Linked DNA regions of Homo sapiens: region 1 is linked to region 2. The links are contacts of gene promoters, found by promoter capture Hi-C in human tissues and cell types (Jung and others, 2019). All regions are on one chromosome and are shown on one strand. The core of a region is centred on a gene start or on the middle of the fragment in contact, and the rest is flanking DNA. Distances in the headings are between cores, read along the strand shown. Region 1 overlaps DNAJC5 (DnaJ heat shock protein family (Hsp40) member C5). Region 2 holds the start of GID8 (GID complex subunit 8 homolog).

Evidence for each region. The method cuts DNA at HindIII sites, captures the fragments that hold promoters and counts their contacts. A contact is called where the count stands out against the background at its distance.
Region 1: a fragment that was not itself captured here is called in contact with the fragment with the promoter of GID8 in region 2 in 1 of the 25 tissues and cell types used here (dorsolateral prefrontal cortex).

Annotation. Positions count from the first base shown.
Region 1 is chr20:63,903,899-63,910,707 of GRCh38, forward strand. The region is part of intron 1 of DNAJC5 (DnaJ heat shock protein family (Hsp40) member C5); the gene reads left to right. It also overlaps the pseudogene RNU1-134P. Among named protein-coding and RNA genes, the nearest start is that of MIR941-1, 12 kb to the right of the region's middle. RefSeq lists an enhancer at 6,458-6,809. The HindIII fragment of the contact is 9,611 bases long and covers 1-6,809 here.
Region 2 is chr20:62,932,474-62,939,503 of GRCh38, forward strand. GID8 (GID complex subunit 8 homolog) reads left to right here and starts at 5,674. Exons shown (of 5, transcript NM_017896.3): 1 at 5,674-5,780. It also overlaps a transcript of DIDO1 not described here. RefSeq lists silencers at 4,875-4,924, 5,195-5,244, 5,615-5,844, 5,915-6,044 and an enhancer at 5,740-6,408. The HindIII fragment of the contact is 10,021 bases long and covers 3,382-7,030 here.

The DNA of each region.
Region 1 (6,809 bases), core at 842-3,341, 970 kb after region 2:
AACATGAGGAAACCCCATCTCTGCAGAAAATACAAAAGTTAGCTGGGCGTGGTGGTGCATGCCTGTGGTCCCAGCTACTCGAGAGGCTGAGGTCAGGCTGAGGTGGGAGGATCCCTGGAGCCTGGGAAGCGGAGGTTGCAGTGGGGGATGAAAAAGAATACCCCGTGTCCAAATAGCAAAACACTCTGAAATGAGGCAAACCGTGGTTTGTTGAACAGGTGTTCTGGGACAAGGTTGCCGAATATGCATTAGCCGTAATCCCCAGGACAGCCATGCAGGGTGGGTCTTAAACAGTTTTTTAGATTCTCGAGTATAAAGGTATAATATTGAAGAATAAGCACAAATAATGTCATCATACATGTTAAAGTGACAACACAGGATTTACAAAATTACCCTTTTTTCCCCAAAATTACCTCTTACGATGTGGTTTCTGTTGGTGCTGTTTTCTCTTGCATCATCCCGCCAGGTTGGGTAACCCTAACTGATTGTCACCAGCAGACCAACAGACAGACTCACAGCATCCTTCTCCCTGGTGTGAGCACTGCTTAATTCACATTTATGAAAATACTTTAAGACAAGGGCACTGTAACTCACATAGAATCTGAAGTGGCCTTGAACAGGGAGCTGGTCCAGCTGCCTCTTAGTGTGTCTGACCTCCAGGTGGGCGGACTGAGATGCGTGCAGGTGTTCATGGTATAGGCATCCTTGTAAACCTGCTCTGGTTAAGGATAAATAGGCAAAGTTGTGCTAATGCTGTTCCTACAGCAGCCTTTGCCCTGGACTGACTCCAGAACAGCTGGCTGACTGACAGCTGCCTCCCAGTAAAGCCTTAAACAGGCTTATCTTATATTTTTAAAAGGCAAAGGACAATAAGGCAGATTAATAAACTGTGGGGGTTTTTTTGTTTGTTTTTGTTTTTCTTGAGACAAAGTCTCGCTGTTGTACCCCAGGCTGGAGTGCAACGGCGCGATCTCGGCTCACTGCAACCTCTGCCTCTCGGGTTCAAGCGATTCTCCTGCCTCAGCCTCCAGAGTAGCTGGGATTACAGGTGCCCGCCACCACGCCCGGCTAATTTTTGTATTTTTAGTCTAGACGGGGGTTTCACCATGTTGGCCAGGCTGGTCTCGAACTCCTGACATCAGGTGATCCGCCTGCCTCGGCCTCCCAAAGTGTCAGGATTATAGGGTGAGCCACCGTGCCTGGCTTTTTTTTTTTTTTCCTGTCTTTTGTGTATGTGATGGGGTCTCGCTCTTGTCGCCCAGGCTGGAGTGCCATGGCACGATCTCGGCTCACTGCAACCTCTGCTTCCCGGGTTCAAGTGACTCTCCTGCCTCAGCCTCCTGAGTAGCTGGAACTGCAGGTGTGCACCACCATGCCCGGCTAATTTTTGTATTTTTACTAGAGATGGGGTTTCACCATGTTGGCCAGGCCGATCTCGACCTCCTGACCTCAAGTGATTGACCCACCTCAGCCTTCCAAAGTACTGGGATTGCAGGTGTGAGCCACCACACCCGGGGCTGGATTTTTTTGTTTTAAGAGACAAGGTCTCACACTCTTGCCCAGGCTGGTTTACAGTGGTGCAGTCACTGCAGCCTTCACCTCTGGGCTCGAGTGATCCTCCCACCTCAGGTTACAGGTGTGAGCCACCACACATGACCGCACATGGCAGATTTTTTTTTTTTTTTTTTCACGGAGTCTGGCTCTTGTCACCCAGGCTGGAGTGCAATGATGTGATCTCAGCTCTCACTGCAACCTCCGCCTCCTGGGTTCAAGCAATTCTCCTGCCTCAGCCTCCCGAGTAGCTGGGATTATAGGGGCGTGCCACCCTGCCCAGCTAATTTTTTTTTTTTTCTGGAGACAAAGTCTTGCTCTGTCACCCAGACTGGAGTGCAATGGCACCATCTTGGCTCACTGCAACCTCCGCCTCCTGGGTTCAAGCGATTCTCCTGCCTCAGCCTCCCGAGTAGCTGGGATTACAGGCACGTGCCACCTCACCTGGCTAATTTTTATATTTTTAGTAGAGACGGGGTTTCACCATGTTGGCCAGGCTGGTCTTGAACTCACTGACCTCAGGTGATCCGCCTCAGCCTCCCAAAGTGCTGGGATTACAGGCGTGAGCCACTATGCCCGGCCCAGGATTTTTTTTTTAATTAAGGAAAATACTTTTTACATCTAAAATTCTACGCGACAATAATTAATGTGTCTTCAAGCTGAGAATTAATTAAAATATAGCCAATAAAACATGTATTAAGCTTTGTAAACTTTGTCTATATATGTACTTATTTTACTTTTATTTAAAAATATGGGGCCAGGCACGGTGGCTCACACCTGTAATCCCACCACTTCGGGAGGCCAAGACGGGTGGATCACTTGGGGTCAGGAGTTTGAGACCAGCCTGGCCAACATGGCGAAACCCCTTCCATCTCTACTAAAAATATGAAAATTAGCCAGGTGTGGTGCAGGCACCTGTAATTCCAGCTACTCAGGAGGCTGAGGCAGGACAATTGCTTAAACCCAGAAGGCGGAGGTTGCAGTGAGCCGACATTGCTCCACTGCACTCCAGCTTGAGCAATAGAAAGACTCTGTCTTAATAAATAAATTAATAGCCGAGCACGCTGGCTCACGCCTGTAATCCCAGCATTTTGGGAGGCCGAGACGGGCAGATCATGAGGTCAGGAGATCGAGACCATCCTGGCTAACACGATGAAACCCCGTCTCTACTAAAAATACAAAAAAAGCCGGGTGTGATGGTGGGCGCCTGTATATAGTCCCAGCTACTCGGGAGGCTGAGGCAGGAGAATGGCGTGAACCTGGGAGGTGGAGCTTGCAGTGAGCCGAGATCGCGCCACTGCACTCCAGCCTGGGTGAGTGATCGAGACTCTGTCTCAAAAAAAATTAATTAATTAATTAAAATATGACAGTGGCCTGGGTGCCATCGCTCGCACCTGTAATCCCAGCACATTGGGAGTCTAAGGTGGGAGGATCACTTGAGCTCAGGAGTTTGCCTAGCCTGGGCAACTTAGGGAGATCCTGCCTCTACAAAAAATAAAAAATTATCCAAGTGTGGTGGTTGCACACCTGTAGTCCCAACTACTTCGGAGGGTTGCAGGAGTCCAGGAGGTCAAGGCTGCCGTGAGGTGTGATTGAGCCACTGCACTCCTACCTGGGTGATATAGTGAGACTCTGTCTCTAAAATAAAATAAAATAAAATAAATGACAGTGGTCCATATAGTACCTTATTCAGAAAAGGCTTGATGTACAAGAAAATAAGTTATTTGTGATCAGGACAGAGAAGAATTACTGCCTTTTGTGAAATGGATGCTGAGAATCAGTTACGATGTACGGTGCTTGGGAGGCTGACTTTGATTTCAGTTACAGCCCTGCTGATCCTTAGCACGGTGACTGCAAATAGGTTACTCCACCTTCCTGAGTCTCAGTCTTCTTAGCCGAAAAGCACAGATCATCATCATAATAGCTAACATTAACTGTGTGCCTGGCATAGGGTCTGACCGCTTTATTCAAGCCAGCTCCCAGACATACCTTGCTGGACTGTTTAATGCCCATTCGACAAAGAGGAGATCGACATGGGGAGGTGTTGAGTAACTTGCCTGGCCACTGAGTCCCTGTCAATGGCAGCTCAGACAGGTGACCCCAGAGCTACCCTCCCACCCCCTGACCAGGCCCGTCTCACAGGCCTCTTAGGAAGGGCTCTGTTCAGTAGATGGCAGGCACGTGGTAAGTGTTTCCTAAGCTGCAGCTGCTGTGTAGATAAAACTCAAAGCAGATATCACAAGTTTTGTCAGATCATACTGTCTCAATTTTGAGGTGAATGCATGTGTTTTACTACTTAACTACCTCTGAAATTTAGGGGTTTTTTGTTTGTTTTGAGACGGAGTCTCGCTCTGTCGACAGGCTGGAGTGCAGTGGCGCGATCTCGGCTCATTGCATCCTCTGCCTCCCGGCTTCAAGTGATTCTCCTGTCTCAGCTTCCCCAGTAGCTGGGCCTACGGGCATGTGCACCATCACGCCTGGCTAATTTTTGTATTTTTAGTAGAGTCGGGGTTTCACCAGGTTGGCGAGGCTAGTCTCGAACTCCTGAGCTCGTGATCCCCCCACCTTGGCCTCCCGAAGTGCTGGGATTACAGGCGTGAGCCACTGCGCCTGGCCCTGAAATTTCGCATGTTTTACGGTTGGCTTGTTAGGGTTAAATTGGTGCACCTTATACTTGGTTGCATACTAGACTCACTGGAATGATTTGACTTTCGTCATAGTTGCAGAGGCACTCTGAAACCCTATGTATGTGCTTCACCAGGGACAGCCCCACGCATGGGAGGTGGTGGCCAGCCATCACCCCAGGGTGAATTTCTCTAAGAGCAGTCCTAGGCCAGGGGGTGAGTGTGGGAAAGTCAGGGCCGTTTCCATCAGTTAACGTTTCAGAGCGGGTTCCCGCTGGAAGTGCTGGAAATACCCAGATGCCATCTGTAGCATTTTATGAACTGTGGCGGATCCACTCTCTGTGTCTTGAGCTTCTGCTCTGTGGTCTGCTCAGTGGAAGCATCCTGTCAGTCCACTGTACAGTGGGGTGGAGCCGCAGCCAGGGTGGGTGTGCCGTTTGATTGGTCACGGAATGAACAGGGCAAAGGTCACTAAGTAGATATGATACTGCAAGTAGGATTGTGGTCATAGGTATTTTTATGAATTTGTGTTATGTGAAGTTGAGGATTTGAATGTTGTGATTATTATATCCAGATAAAGTTCTAGCCTGGCACAGTGCAGGCACGTGCCTGTGGTCCCAGCTGCTTGAAGTGGGAGGAGAGCTTCAGCTCAGGATTTCCAGGCTATAGGGAGCTGTGGTCCCACCATTGCACCCCAGCCTGGGTGACAGAGTGAGACCCCATCTCAAAAAGAAAAGAAAAGAGGCTAGGCGCAGTGGCTCAGGCCTGTAATTCAAGCACTTTGGGAGGCTGAGGCAGGCGGATCACTTGAAGTCTGGAGTTCGAGACCAGCCTGGCCAACATGGTGAAACCCCCCCATCTCTATTAAAAATACAAAAATCATACTTACCCGGCAGGGGAGATACCATGATCGCGAAGGTGGTTTTCCCAGGGCAAGGCTTAGCCATTGCACTCCGGATGTGCTGAGCCCTGCGTTTTCCCCAAATGTGGGAAACTTGACTGCGTAATTTGTGGTAGTGGAGGGACTGTGTTCACACTGTCCCCCCCGCCCAAAAAAATAAAAATACAAAAATCAGTCGGGCGTGGTGGCTCACGCCTGTCATCCCAGCACTTTGGGAAGCCGAGGTGGGTGGATCACCTGAGGTCAGGAGTTTGAGACCAGCCTGGCCAACATGGTGAAAATTGGGAGGCCGAGGCGGGCGGATCCCAAGGTCAGGAGATCGATACATCCTGGCTAACACAGTGAAACCCCGTCTCTACTAAAAATAAAAAAAAAAAAATTAGCCGGGCGTGGTGGCGGGCGCCTGTAGTCCCAGCTACTCGGGAGGCTGAGGCAGGAGAATGGCGTGAACCAGGGAGGCGGAGCTTGCAGTGAGCCGAGATGGCGCCACTGCACTGCAGCCTGGGCGACAGAGCGAGATTCCGTCTCAAAAACAACAACAAGAACAACAACAAAAAATTAGCCGGGAGCAGTGATGCGTGCCGTAGTCCCAGCTACTCTGGAGGCTGAGGCAGGAGAATCACTTGAGCCTGGGAGGCAGAGGCTGCAGTGAGCCGAGATTGTGCCACTGCACTCCAGCCTGGGCGACAGAGCAAGACTCCGTCTCAAAGAAAGAAAAAGAAAGAAAAAAGTCTTCCCCGTGAGAGTAGATTTCTACTGAATCGATTGCTGGTTTTATGCCTTTTCTTCCGTGATAGGAAGTATGTCCAGACTCATCTGGCTGGGGATCCTCAGGAGAGCCTGCGGGGGGCAGCAGAGGCCCGCCTGGGCCAGGGCGTGCACCAGACCAGAATCCTGCGGATTTAGTATTGTGAGGGTAGAAGACCAGCAAGCAGCATGACCTCGTGGTTACTGATCTTATGAAGAACACTTGTCTTTCATATTTGGGACTGTGTTAAGGTTTTCTGGAATATTTTTGGTTGTAGTAACGATTCTGCTTTAGGAGCTTTCTTCTCTAGTGTTGCACAGACCTGAGTGATTTGACCAGCAGTGCTGCGGTAACGGAAGACCACTCGTGTCTTCAGACTCGTTCTGTTCCTGGGGGTGCTTGCTTGTTCTAGGCCCCCTTTGTATGGAGAGGTTCAAACCTTGATTGAATAGTCGCTACCCAGGTGTCATAACCTGTGGCCTCATTGGTGTCACCTGGACTTTTTGTCTGCTGTTTGCACCATCGAAAGTGATGTGCGCTGGCCGGGCGCGGTGGCTCACGCCTGTGGTCCCAGCACTTTGGGAGGCGGGGGTGGGCAGATCACAAGGTCAGGAGATGGAGACCATCCTGGCTAACACGGTGAAACCCCATCTCTACTAAAAATACAAAAATTAGCTGGGCATGGTTGCGAGTGCCTGTAGTCCCAGCTACTCGGGAGGCTGAGGCAGGAGAATGGCGTGAACCTGGGAGGCAGAGCTTGCAGTGAGTGGAGATCGCGCCACTGCACTCCAGCCTGGGCAACAGAGCGAGACTCCCTCTCGAAAAAAAAAAGTGATGTGCGCTTGGGACTGGGAGGGCGAGGCCCGAGGTACCTGGGTGCCCGATGCCCAGGAGGGCATGAGTGTCGTGTTGGATAACCTGCTCTCCAAGTAATAGGGTTTTGAGAATGTTTTTTTTTTTTTTTAATTGAGACAGAGTCTGACTC
Region 2 (7,030 bases), core at 4,424-6,923:
CCAGTAACTGTCTATCAAATCCTGACCAGCCAGGTTCAAACTACATAATCAAACTCAAATGAAATAGTACATAAACAATGCTTTGACCATGTACATTGCTACTCAAAATACTCTTTGGCCTTTCCCACTGGTCTGCAATGGCAGGACTGTATCACCTTCCCTCCTACCACATTTGTTTCAGGTAACAGTATGCTAGATACGGTTTGTCTCAACCTCAGCAGGAGTTAAAGGTTTTAAAAAAATAAAAATAAAAATCAAGAAAAGATTATTCTTGCTCTCACCCAAACAAACTTACAAAATATTCAGTGCTTTCTGATTTAGTGGTATAATCTAGAAAGGGAAATAAAATCAGGCAAAAAGAGGGAGGGGGAAGGTCACCTATATCAAACAATCACCAGTGAAGATTCTTTACAGGGTCTGGGTTCACCAGACACATGGTGTCAGAATATGTGCAGCAGGCCAGGCGCCATGGCTCATGCCTGTATTCCCAGCATTTTGGGAGGCCCAGGCAGGTGGATCACCTGAGGTCTGGAGTTCGAGACCAGCCTGACCAACATGAAGAAACCCCATCTCTACTAACAATACAAAATTAGCCGGGCGTGGTGGCGCATGTCTGTAATCCCAGTTACTCAGGAGGCTGAGGCAGGAGAATCGCTTAAACCGGTAGGCGGAGGTTGCAGTGAGCCAAGATCGTGCCATTGCACTCCAGCCTGGGCAACAAGAGTGAAATTCTGTCTCAAACAAAAAAACAACAACAAAAGAATATGTGCAGCAGACTAAATAGTAAAATTCTTCCTTACCTCTTTCCAACATCTCTAATTGTTTAAAATACTGTGAAAAGTGAAGTTCATGAAAATTGAGGTCTGAGTGTTTCCTACCTACTTCTGCTAACCATTCTAAGCATCAACAACTGATGGGTTTATCAATTATCCTGAAAAGTAAGGTGGTTTGATTTGCCCAATCTCTTTGAAAGCCTGAAGTCTCCAGTATGTAGGGGTTTGATTTTATGCTTTTGGGTTTTGAGAGTAAAACAAAACATCCATGGGAATAATGTGGTTTTGAAACATGGCTGATATCCTGGTTTTTAAACATTCTATGATTTGAGTAAAGGAAGCACTCTATGCAGTGGTTCACACCTGTAATCCCAGCACTCTGGGAGGCTGAGGCAGGAAGACTGCTTGCACGCAGAAGTTTGAGAACAGCCTGGGCAACATAGTGAGACCTCTCCTCTACAAAAAATAAACAAAATTAGCTGGGTGTGGTGGCTTCCGCCTGTAGTCCCAGCTACTCAAGAGGCTAACATGGGAGGATTAGCTGGGAGGTGTAGGTTGCAGTGAGCCATTATCACACCATTGCACTCCAGCCTGGGCAAACTGCTCTCCCCTTTTTAAAAACTCATTAATGTTCTTTTAAGATTAATATACCTTTAGCACTCCTCTTTCTGTTCATCTCTTTCAATATGAAACAACTCAAGTTCAAAGCCACCACCTCAGCTTGCAAGACACTGGAAGCTCTGAACACCTGGTTGCCCCTCAGCTGACTGTAAGGGCCAAGCCTTTGGTTTCTCTCATCCACATGCCCACCTCTGTCATAGGAAAGCTCAGGCAGTTGATGAATCCAGCAGGCTGAAGTCCTTGTCACTGTCCCAGATGCCAACCCGTGTGGCCCTGCACCCTCTCCTGTCCCGGGACCCACCTACCTCTTTCCTGCTCTCCTGCACTCTTGGTGAGCCTCCATGCTGGTGGCTTCAGGGCTCTGGCCCAGGCTCTCCTCCTCTCCCTCCACCCATCCCTTCTCCACAGAGACTTCATGCACACCTGGCTGTAGTTGCCTTTATCTCTGCCTGGATCTGGGCACCATCATTCACCTGCTCCCCTGGCATCTCCACGTGAATGCCTCAAATGCACTTCAAAACCTACCTAACACATGCAAAATGAGCTTAGGACTTCTGACCTCCCTACTACATACTTCCAGGCTCTTCTCTGGCGTTCCCTATCCAGAGGATGGTCCCACCACCCTATAAATTCATAGGCCAGAAGCTGAGAAATTATCCTTGACCCCCCTCCCTGCTCCTCAGTCTCACCTGCTGCTGCAGCGTTTTGTGGCATCTAGCTCACTGCTCACTTCTCAGTACATAAGTGCATGGCCCTAATGGCTTCTGAACACCTTCAACATACTACGCTGTCTTCACCTCACCCCTGCTCACCACACTCCAATGTTTCCCATTCCCATCACATCTCTCAACTTCTTGCTCTCTCACCAAAAACCATCAAATGGGGAGTTTTGGCACCTTCACCCTGGACTTCCCTGCCGCCTGGAAACTGCTAACATAGCTTCTCGAAACTGGACACCCTGTGGCTTCAGGGAGCGCCTTTGAAGCCCCTGGTTCTTGTCAGACCCCCCGGCCACTTTCTTGCTACCCTTCATAGGCAGCTTCTTCCTTAGTGAATACAGCTTGCAGCTCTGCATTCTGGACTTGATCCACTCCTTGTCTCCATGGGCTTCCTCTGAATACTGTACCCATCAACTCTCAACTCTAGCCCTGCTCTTCCCCTTGAGCTTTAGATGTGTCCCACAGGCACCTCCAATTGAATGAGGCCCACGGTGAACTCACCACCTTTCCCTCGTTGTTGCACCTCCTTCTTCTTCATGATCATTCTCAGTTGGTGCCACCACCTCATCAGCTGGGCTACTCACCCGCATCACTCTGGTCTTCCTTCTTAGCTCCCACAAATTGTCAGTCACCAAGGACTGCTCATTTCCATCCTGACTGAAGGTCTCTTTCCATTTTTGCTAGTATTGCTTCCAGTTAAGATCCTCATAATCATTCACTCATTTATTCCTTCGTCACTCAACAAATAAATATTTATGGAGCTCCTATTACGATTTAGCCATAATCAACTCACATGAAGCTTACCATTTTATGCTGAATCATGACATCCCATCAGACAGCAACCACACGGACCGTGTGCTAAGAGCTACGAAGAGCTAAGTTAGGATTCTGTGCAAGCATAAAGGAAAGGCACTCAATCCAGCTTTGTTAGGGAAGACTTCCCCGAGAAAGCCACGTCTCTACTGAGGAGGTGAGCAGGAGTTAGCCTAGGGAAGGCTGTTAGCTAGGGCCCAGACTGAGAGCACAGCGATAACAAAGCTTGTTGACATGAGAAAACCTCCAATCAGCTGGGATGGCTGGAGCAGAGAGTAAGATCAGGAGTGCAGACTTATAGCTGCGCTAACTTTACACAGGCAACTGGGGAGTCCCCAAGGGATGTTAGAAGGATAGAGTCAATGAGTGATGGCTTTTGGAGAGATCACCCTGTCTGCTATGTGAGAGGTAGTGACAGGACTTCTGGAGCTCAACAGGAGTTACGGAGACATCCTGGCAATCCAAAAAGCAAAGATGATGGCTTCCACGTTATGGTGGAAGAGGCTGGGAAACAACACAAAGGAGCCAGTTTCTAGAGAGGATTAAGGAGGGGGCTCGAGCAGGACTTGGTAACCGGTTGGCTGTTGGGAGGAGGAGCATTAACCTGTGACCCACAGGCAGGCACTGAGACAGCCTCTTTGGACTGGAATGTTAAGGAATGTCGCCTTAAGGCGCTAGCACTCAAGCTTTCTGCTCGTGCATCCCCTTGCACACTTTCTCCTTGACGTTCAGGCTGGGCATGGTGGCTGACGCCTGTAAACCCAGCACTCCCAGAGGCCGAGGCGGGAGGATGGCTTGAGCCCAGGAGATCGAGACCAGCCTGGGCAAGAAGGCAAGACCCCGTCTCTAAAAAACTTTAAAAAATAAAAATAGGCCGGATGCGGTGGCTCATGACTGTAATCCGAGCACCTTGGGAGGCCGAGGTGGGTGATCATTTGAGGTCAGGAGTTCGAGACCAGCCTAGCCAACATGGTGAAACCCCACCCGTACTAAAAATACAAAATAAGTAGCCGGGCGTGGTGGCGGGTGCCTGTAGTTCCAGCTACTCGGGAGGCTGAGGCAGGAGAATCACTTGAACCCAGGAGGCGGAGGTTGCAGTGAGTCGAGATCATGACAGTGCACTCCAGCCTGGGCAACAAAGTGAGACTCCTTCTCAAAAAATAGAATAAAATAAAATCAAAATAGGCCGGGAGCGGTGGCTCACGCCTGTAATCCCAGCACTTTGGGAGTCCGAGGCGGGCGGATCACGAGGTCAAGACACTGAGACCAGCCTGACCAACAAGGGGAAACCCCGTCTCTACTAAAAATACAAAAATTAGCTGGGCGTGGTGGTGCGCCCCTGTGGTCCCAGCTACTCGGGAGGCTGAGGCAGGAGAATCGCTTGAACCCGGGAGGCGGAGGTTGCAGTGAGCCGAGATGGCGCCACTGCGCTCCAGCCTGGGCGAGAGTGAGACTTCGTCTCAAAATAAATAACTAAATAAAGACCAATAACTGTTTCCCATAGGGTTATGTAGTTGCAAATGAAAAAATTACTGGCATGTACTGCCTCTGCATATGAAGCATAATTTTGTCAAGACCTTATACCTGCAGATTTAGCTCTTTCGATTAACGGAAAATGTCCAAAATCAGTCTCCTCCAACCTATTTGCCGAACTGGACTTACTGTCGCTGAGTAGACCGACCGACATAGCTTACACGTTGTTCAGCTCGCTTGTAAGCAAACACACGAAACCACCTCACCCCTGACTTCAGAAAGAAGCCGTCCCGTGAATTCCTCACAGATGAAATCAGGAGCTGCCCCTCAAGGACTCTATTTCTTCCTTCGGCTCTATCAAATATTTTAAGGTACTTCCCAGCAACGGAAACATGGGACCCTGCAATGACAGACTTCGCATTCCTCCTGAGCGGACAGGCAATAAGCAAGTAAACGCGCAAATACCCAAGTGCGGCCTCAACCCGCGCTCCTGCCGGGAGGGTCTCCAGTCACCGAGTAACCCCGGCCCTGCCCCGCGCCGCCGCCGGGACTCCGCCCCGCAAGCAAGTGGGGTCTCCTTTGTCCCGCGCGCCCTGGCCGCGTCCCGCCCTTCGGCGTAGCCCATGGGAGGCGCCCTGAGGGCAGGGCCCTTCTGATTCCCCACCTGGCCTCGAGTGAGGACGCGCTCAACAACATCTCGAGTAAAGCGGGGGAACTCGCTTCAACGCGCAGACAGCACAGCTCTCGCCCAGCCCGGTCTCGGGTCAGCCGTCTCTCCCTGGACCTCAGGGACACTAGCCCTGGAAGGCCGCCGGTCGGGAGGGGACTCCCTCCCCGTCTGAGGGGCGGCCGCGGACACCCGGCGCCTTTCCCCCGCCCCACCCCGTGCGGCCTCACGCAAACGACAGGAAAAAAGCTGGGACCTTCGCCTCCGACTCAGTGTAGACGTCGCCATCCCGGTTCCAGATTTCCGCGCTCCAACGCCTCCGCAGCAGCCATCTTGCCAGAGGGCCGACGCCTTTTGACTCTGGCGCCAACCCGTAGTGCGTGGTCGCCGCGAGGGGAGTTCTGCGCAAGTACGGAAGCTGAGGTTCCGCGCTTCCGGGAGGCCGTCCGCCCCGCCCCCTCGCGGGGGCGCTTCATTGGTCATCGGCTCGCGCTCTCGCGCTCTCTTGCTGTCGCGAGAGGTGCTGAGGGGCGGCCTCCGGTGCGCCTGCCCTCCCGCTCCCCGCCCCCGCCCCCGCCCCCGCCTCCGCCGCGGCCCCCACCTCTGCCTCCTTCTACTCGGGCGCCCCGGCGGCCGCCACCTCTCCCCAGCCCAGGAGAGGCTGCGGAGCCGCAGCCGCCCAGACCGCGCAGCGCGGGAGGCAGGTTCCGCACGGTAAGATGGCGGCGGCGGGCCCGGGCGGCCGGGCCGAGCGTCTCCCGGGGCCGGGCCGGGCGGGCAGGCGGGATGTGGCCGGGGTGCGCGCCGCCCCCGCTCTGGGGGCCTTGGAAGCGCCGGCGCTGGCAGGTGCGGAATTGGGGCGCGCAGTGAGTCCAGGCCCGGACGGCCGCCCCGCGCCGGTGCCCAGGGGGCAGTCAGGGCTCAGCCTCCAGGCGCGCGGCCTCAGGCGCTGGTGTTCTGGGGCGGTCCCGGCCAGCCTGAGGGGCGGCGGTAGCTGTCTCTGTGGAGGAGCGACGTCCGTAACGAAGTCTTTTTAATAAAATCTGCTGCTTTAAAGCAGAAACCGAGCGGGTGAGGATGTAAAGTGTGGCATGGAAAGTAGGAGTCTTCAGCACACGGGTGTTTTCTTCTGCTGAATCTTTTTATGCTGGAGTTTGAGACTACCGAGTTCTTCCTGCTAACAGGACTGGCCAGTTCTACAAAGTTGTTGCTTTTCATGGGCGCACGTAACTGCCCGGAGTGGAAGCGCTGTGAGTGCCGATCACCGAATGGGCCGAGAGAAAAGGTGCCTTTTCCTAGGGAGCTCTTAACGTTGGTCCTAGGGCCGGGCGCGGTGGCGGAGGTCGAAGTGGGCGGATCACTTGAGCCCGCGAGTTCGAGACCAGCCGTGGCAACAGCGAGACTCCCTTCTCTGCTAAAAATAAAAAAATTAGCCAGGCAGAGTGGTGCGCTCCTGTTGTCCCAGTTACTCTGGAGGCTGAGGTGGGAGGATCGCTTGAGCCCAGGAGGTCGAGGCTGCGGTGAGCCATGATCGCGCCACTGCCCTCCAGCCTGGGCGACAGAGCGAGGCTCTGTCTCAAAAAAAAAAGAAAAAGAAAATGAGTCCTTAAGTTACCATTAATTGTCGTGAATAAAAAGTTGGTCTCAGTGAGTTTTGCAGTTGACAACGAAAGATGGGTGTTCGTGTGTGACAGCGACTCCTGGTTTCTCCTCCACTTTACCTGCCGCTCCACATCAAGTTTTCTTCTGCTGGTGCCACTTTCTCTGCTTTACCTTCAAGGTTGGCATCCTCCAAGTAATGGCGATTCTCATTCCCTATCTACGCTCTTCCTATGGTCTTTGCTGAATTCTTGGCTTTAAATATCCCTGTGCCCCAGCACCGCCCCCCCCGCCCCTTATTTCACTAATTCATGTTTTCAGCTCTGAGCTCAGGATCTGTAATTCAGACACCTGCTTGATTTCTC